Linked DNA regions of Homo sapiens: region 2 is linked to region 1. Evidence: promoter capture Hi-C in human tissues and cell types (Jung and others, 2019). All regions are on one chromosome and are shown on one strand. The core of a region is centred on a gene start or on the middle of the fragment in contact, and the rest is flanking DNA. Distances in the headings are between cores, read along the strand shown.

Region 1 (2,895 bases), core at 289-2,788:
CGGGCAGTTCAGCTCCCCAGACGGGAGACAGACCCTCGCGACCTGGTTCAGGCCTTGCCCTGGGGGACACTGCAGTCCAAGGCGAAAGGAGACTTGCTCCCGGCCTCTGGGTCCCTAGGTCAAGGCACCTCCCCGCCCCGCCGCCCCTGAGCCCAAGTCGCCAACCCCGCGCCGCGCGCAGCGAGGGATCAGAAGGTCTCGGACGCCGCGGCAGGGCCGGCCAGGGCCCCACGAGTTAGGGAGTTGCCCCGCACCCCTAAACGCTCAGCACCCATTTACGGTTGAAAGTACGCACTTGACGCGTCCGGGCGCCTCCGCGGTGAGTCGCGCCGCCGCTCTCGGGGTCCGCGAAGGTGGCTCAGTTCGGGCGCTCCAGTCTCGACGTTCCCGGGGTAGAGAGCAACGTCCGGGGACGAACGGGACGGGTGCGCCCAGCGGCCGGGGCTGCGCTGGGCGAGGCAAGCGGCGAGAGGGGAGCGCTCCGGCGTTCAGGCAACAGCTACCCCTAGTGGGAGAGCCGCCCGGGGCCGGCGCCGCCCCGCGCCCGCTGCCCCGCGCCCCACGCCCGTGGCGCCCCGCGCCCGGGTCGGCTGGGGGCGCAGGGCCGGCGCCGCTTTCCCCAGCTCTCCGGTCTCCGGCGCCCGGCGGTAACCCGCCCGCGGGCTCTGCCCTCCGCACCTCTCAGCCCGGCCCCGGCGGCCGCTGACCCAGGAACCGCGGCGCCCCGCTGGAACGAGATGGGACGGGGCGGGCGCGGCCAGGGCGGCGCGGGCTGGGGCGGCGCGCGGCAGCCTCGGGCAGCGGCGGGGGGCGCGGAGCGCGGTGTGCGTGGCGGGGCGGTGCGGGGGGCGGCCGTGTGCGAGGCGCGAGTGTGAGCGCGCGCGGGAGGCGGGCGGGCGGGCTCCGGCAGGCGAGCGGCGCCCGCGGGCGAGCCAGGAAGGCGGCGGGAACGCAAAGTTGCCTCCTCGCTGGCCCGCGTCCTCGGTGGGGCGGGAGCCGGGGCCACCGAAGCGGCGGCCGCGGACCCGGCCTCCCGCGGCACCTGGGCAGCGGCCCCGCACGAGCGGCAGCGGCGTGGGCGGCGTTGGCGGCGGCGCGCGGGAAGCGAACCGGAGCTCCGGCGCGGCTCGGCGGCCGCCGGGGAGCTCGGCTCAGGTGCGCGGCGAGGGGGGCGCGGGCCGGAGCCAGGCGGCGGGGACCAGGGCGGCGCGCAGCGCTCGCGCCAGCTGGAGGACCTCCCCAGCGGACGCCCAGGTCCCTGGTCGGGCTCCCGGTCCCCAGCGGCAGCGGCTGCCGGAGTCCCCCGCCCCCGAGAGCTGGCTGCGGGGCCCGGGCCCGCCCCCACCGGCCCCAGGCCCGGCCGCTCCGCCCTCCGCCCGCCTGCGCCCGCCCTCAGCCCAAGATTTCTAGGGCATTGGCCGCGCTGCTGGGTGATCCCTCCGGGCTCAAGTTGCAAGGGGGCGGGCCGGGCCGGAGGTGGAGTCTCCCGCCAATTGAAGCCTCCGCTATAAATTGAACTCCCTGCACTGCTGAAGCCCAGATGCCTCGCCAGGCCACGTCGCGGTTGGTGGTCGGAGAGGGCGAGGGGTCCCAGGGGGCTTCGGGGCCTGCAGCCACCATGCTCCGCTCCCTGCTGCTTCACTCCTTGAGGCTCTGCGCCCAGACCGCCTCGTGCCTCGTGCTCTTCCCGCGCTTCCTCGGCACGGCCTTCATGCTCTGGCTTCTCGATTTCTTGTGTATCCGCAAGCATTTCCTGGGCCGCCGCCGCCGGGGGCAGCCCGAGCCCGAAGTGGAGCTCAACAGTGAAGGCGAGGAGGTGCCTCCCGATGACCCGCCCATCTGCGTGTCCGACGACAACCGCCTGTGCACCCTGGCGTCGCTCAAGGCGGTGTGGCATGGCCAGAAGTTGGATTTCTTCAAGCAGGCGCACGAGGGCGGTCCGGCGCCCAACTCCGAGGTGGTTCTGCCCGACGGCTTCCAGAGCCAGCACATCCTCGACTACGCGCAAGGGAACCGCCCGCTGGTTCTCAATTTCGGCAGCTGCACCTGACCACCGTTCATGGCGCGCATGAGCGCCTTCCAGCGCCTGGTCACTAAGTACCAGCGCGACGTCGACTTCCTCATCATCTACATCGAGGAAGCGCACCCCTCCGACGGCTGGGTCACCACGGACTCTCCCTACATCATCCCACAGCACCGGAGCCTGGAGGACCGGGTCAGCGCAGCGAGGGTACTGCAGCAAGGTGCACCCGGCTGCGCTCTGGTCCTCGACACCATGGCCAACTCCAGCAGCTCGGCCTATGGCGCCTACTTCGAGCGTCTCTATGTCATCCAGAGTGGCACTATTATGTACCAGGGCGGCCGTGGCCCCGACGGCTACCAGGTCTCTGAGCTGCGCACTTGGTTGGAACGCTATGATGAGCAACTGCACGGCGCTCGGCCCCGGAGGGTGTAAACATCCAACGGACAATTGACTGAACTTGGTGGGCTGGGCCTTCGAGCCTTCGAAGCCCACGTGCAAGCGCCTCAAACCAAGTCACGCTTGGCGAGGCCCCAGTGACACTGATGTGCTGAGCCACCATTTCAGACTGAGTCTGCACCCTCAGCCACATGAACAATCTCCCCTACCTCCCTGGGACTCTGCTTCTGTAACTGTCTCATTCACACCTGCCTGGCTCACTGGAAATCCTCTTTTGAGCGCGGGATATGGCTTGCCCTTGTCCGTGTGCCCCCAGGACTTTGCCTCTACAGCATTTTCTTACACCCCCTCCCCAGCGTGCCCTCAGCCAAGTGCTTTGGCCCGGTGCTTCCCGCAGCTGCACAGAGACCTTGGCCACGCCCGCGCGCCCTGAGCGCAGCTGGGTTCCAGGAGACTCTCAGCTCAGCTGAGCTAGT
Region 2 (3,045 bases), core at 5-2,504, 340 kb before region 1:
TTTTTGTTTTTTCCATATGTTTTATTTTGGATAGTTTATATTATTATGTCTTCAAGTTAACTAATCTTTTTTTCTTCTGTGGTATTTAATCTTCTGTTAATCCCATCCAGTATATTTTTCATCTAAGATAATTGTATTTTCAGCTCTTGAAGTTTGACTTACATCTCTTTTCATTACATGTCTCTACTTAACATGCTCAATCTTTCCTGAAGCTTCTTGAACGTGGAGAATTAGAATTATAATAATTGTTTTCTCATCCGGTTGACTAATTCCATCATCTCTAGTATTTCTGAATCAGTTTTGCTTGATTGGGTTTTCTCCTGATTATAGGGCATATTTTCCTGTTTCTTTGCATGCCTGGGTAATCTTTTCTTAAATCCCAGACATCATAAATGTTACCTTGTTAGGTGCTTGACGTTTATATTCCTATAAATACTGTTTTCAGACACAGTTAAGTTACTTAGAAACAGTTTGATCCTCTTGAGGCTTGGTTTTAAGTTCTGTTAGGTGGGACCAGAGCATCATTTAGTCTAGGGTGAATTTCACCCCACTACTGGGCTGACACCCTACTGAGTACTCTCCTGGGTGCCCAGAAGCTGTGAGATTGTCCAGTCTGGCTGGTGGGAACAGGCACTACTCCCAGCCCTTCGTGAGCATGGGCACTGTTGCTGCGAATGCTTCTGGGTGGGTCTTTCCTCCCATGCAGTTTGCCCACCCATGTGCTGATCAGCCCTCTACTGAATGCTAGGGGTCGGGGGAGATCCCTCTGCACATCTCAGAAACTCCCTTTCTGTGCCTCTCGTTCTTCTGTCCTGTGGACTCCAGCTGCCTCGGCCTCATCAGACTCCCAGTTCCATCTCAATTCAGAAAGACCCTGGCTCTGTCTCAGTCCTCCTCCCTGCACCATGGCCTGGAAACTGTCTCCAGACAGCAAGCTGGCGCAATCGCAGGGCTCACATTGTTTGTCTCAGGGATTACCGTCTTGAACTGTCTGATGTCTCATGTCTGAAAATTGTTGATTTCACATGTTTTGTCCAGATTTTTAGATGCTTCAGGAGGGAGGGGAATTCTAGTCCCTGTTATCCTTCCTAGTGAGAGGTAAAAGTTCATCAAATATTTGCTGACTGTCAAATATTTATTCCATACCAATGATTATCGAGAGCCAGGTGACTTCTATGCATTTGAGCTGCACTGGAGAGCAAGCTCTGACAGCTCGACCCTCGGGGTGGACACGAGGACAGTGAGGTGGTCTAAACCAGAAAATAAAAAATAAACAAAATAGAACAATGAATTATGTACAGAATGTTGGAAGTATTCACTGCTATGGAAAACAAGAAAGCAACAGAGCTGGTTAAGGGGTGCGTTAGGATCATGGTGACCAGAGGGTACGTTTGTAAATAGGGCAGTCCGGGTGGGTCTTACCAGGAAGGTGACATTTCTGCTTCCTCCCTCCTTCCCACCTGCCCCACCAAAACCCTAGTGCAATTATAAAGGCCACCAGGAAACCAACACAACTTCCTTACAGAGGCCTCATTCCACATCTTGGACTCCTGAAAGCCACCCCACCCCCTAATTTGATCCCCAAGGCCGGGCAGAGCACAGAGAGGAAAACGTGACCATGAGCAGGCTCCTCAGATGGCACGCGCCTCTGAGCCTGTCCAAGTGGTAATTAATTGGTATACGTGCTCCCAGAGCTGACAAATGTTTATTCTACAAAACCAAGAAGGAAGATCCAATGAGAAATCGCATTTTCCCTGGTGAGTGTCTGGGTCTCATCAGGCCTCTTGTGACCGAGGACAGCCGAACTGCACAGCTCACACTGGCCATCATCTGTGTGTTCCCAGAAGGTCGCGGTGTTTCCACAGTTGAGTCCATGGCGGGAGGTCCTAGCCCGTGTTCGGACGTCAGTGGTGCCAGCGGTGTGGCCACATGCCCCTCCCTAGAAGAGAGCCATGCCTTAAGTTACCCTTGAGTGGTGCTTCTGCCCAAATGCTGTGACCTCTTCTTTCCAGGAGTGATCGTGCCCTGCCAGTGATGCCTCTGTTGCTGGGCAGGCCCCACCACATGAAGTATGGGGGCTTTCCTTGCAGCCTCCCTGGTCACAGCTCACCTCCCATGACATGTGAAGTGTCATGGGAGGTGACTCTGCTCTTCTTCTGGGCTTCCTGGGGCATAGTCCCCAACTCACACTCCTAGCCCCCTGCCCCATTGCCATGGACAGACCCATTCCCTACACGGTGTGTCTCCCTCTTTGTTATGGAGTGCATGGTTGTGTCCCCCCAGATGCGATGTTGAAATCCTAACCCCCAAAGTGATGATATTAGGAAGTGGGGCCTTTGGGAGGTGACTAGGTCACGAGGGTGGAGCCCTCACGAATGAGATTAGTGCCCTCTAAAAGGGGCCCCAGAGAGCTCTCTCACCCTCTTTCTACCATGTGAGGACACAATGAGACGACAGCTGTCTGCAGCCCAGGAGAGGGCCTTCCCCAGAACCTGACCATGTTGGCAACCTGACTTCCAGCTTCCCGGACTTGTAGAAGTAAAGCTGGGCTATCTGTAGGCTGCCCAGGCTTTGGAAATTTGTCATGGCAGCAGCAACTCACTAAGGCGCTGCATGCTCTCAGCCGGTGACTCTGCCTTGGCCCCTCAGACCCTGCCCCATCCTCATGGATCTGTCCTGCCGCTGCCCCTGCCCCTGCTGGGGGCCTAGAACCCTTTGTCCCCAGCCTGTGCCCTCTCCTGGGCTGTGGCCCTGAGGTCTATAAAGGACACATGAGGGGGCGGTAGACAAGAATATGGTTGGTGGGGAGTAAGGAAGCTGTTCTTGATTTGGGTACTTTGACCCTAGCCCATAGATTTCTTTCAAATCCTTCAGCTTTTCAGTTGCACAAGAACAATTTACTAAAACTTTTGTAAAACGTAAAAAAAAAAATTTTTTGGCTTCCTCTTTTTCCCCAACCCATAAACCCTGAAGGAGGCAAAACAAAACAAAATAAAACAAACAAAAACAACACAACTAAACCAAAACAAAGAACAACACATCAGT

Evidence for each region. The method cuts DNA at HindIII sites, captures the fragments that hold promoters and counts their contacts. A contact is called where the count stands out against the background at its distance.
Region 2: a fragment that was not itself captured here is called in contact with the fragment with the promoter of DIO3 in region 1 in 2 of the 25 tissues and cell types used here (H1 embryonic stem cells and thymus).

The regions. Positions count from the first base shown.
Region 1 is chr14:101,559,957-101,562,851 of GRCh38, forward strand. DIO3 (iodothyronine deiodinase 3) reads left to right here and starts at 1,539. Exons shown (of 1, transcript NM_001362.4): 1 at 1,539-2,895. The coding sequence starts at 1,541. The coding sequence ends at 2,455. DIO3OS (DIO3 opposite strand upstream RNA) reads right to left here and starts at 466. Exons shown (of 2, transcript NR_152588.1): 1 at 296-466. MIR1247 (microRNA 1247) reads right to left here and starts at 466; the gene lies at 331-466. The HindIII fragment of the contact is 20,870 bases long and covers 1-2,895 here.
Region 2 is chr14:101,219,379-101,222,423 of GRCh38, forward strand. No RefSeq gene overlaps it. Among named protein-coding and RNA genes, the nearest start is that of LINC02285, 100 kb to the left of the region's middle. RefSeq lists an enhancer at 2,167-2,943. The HindIII fragment of the contact is 9,586 bases long and covers 1-3,045 here.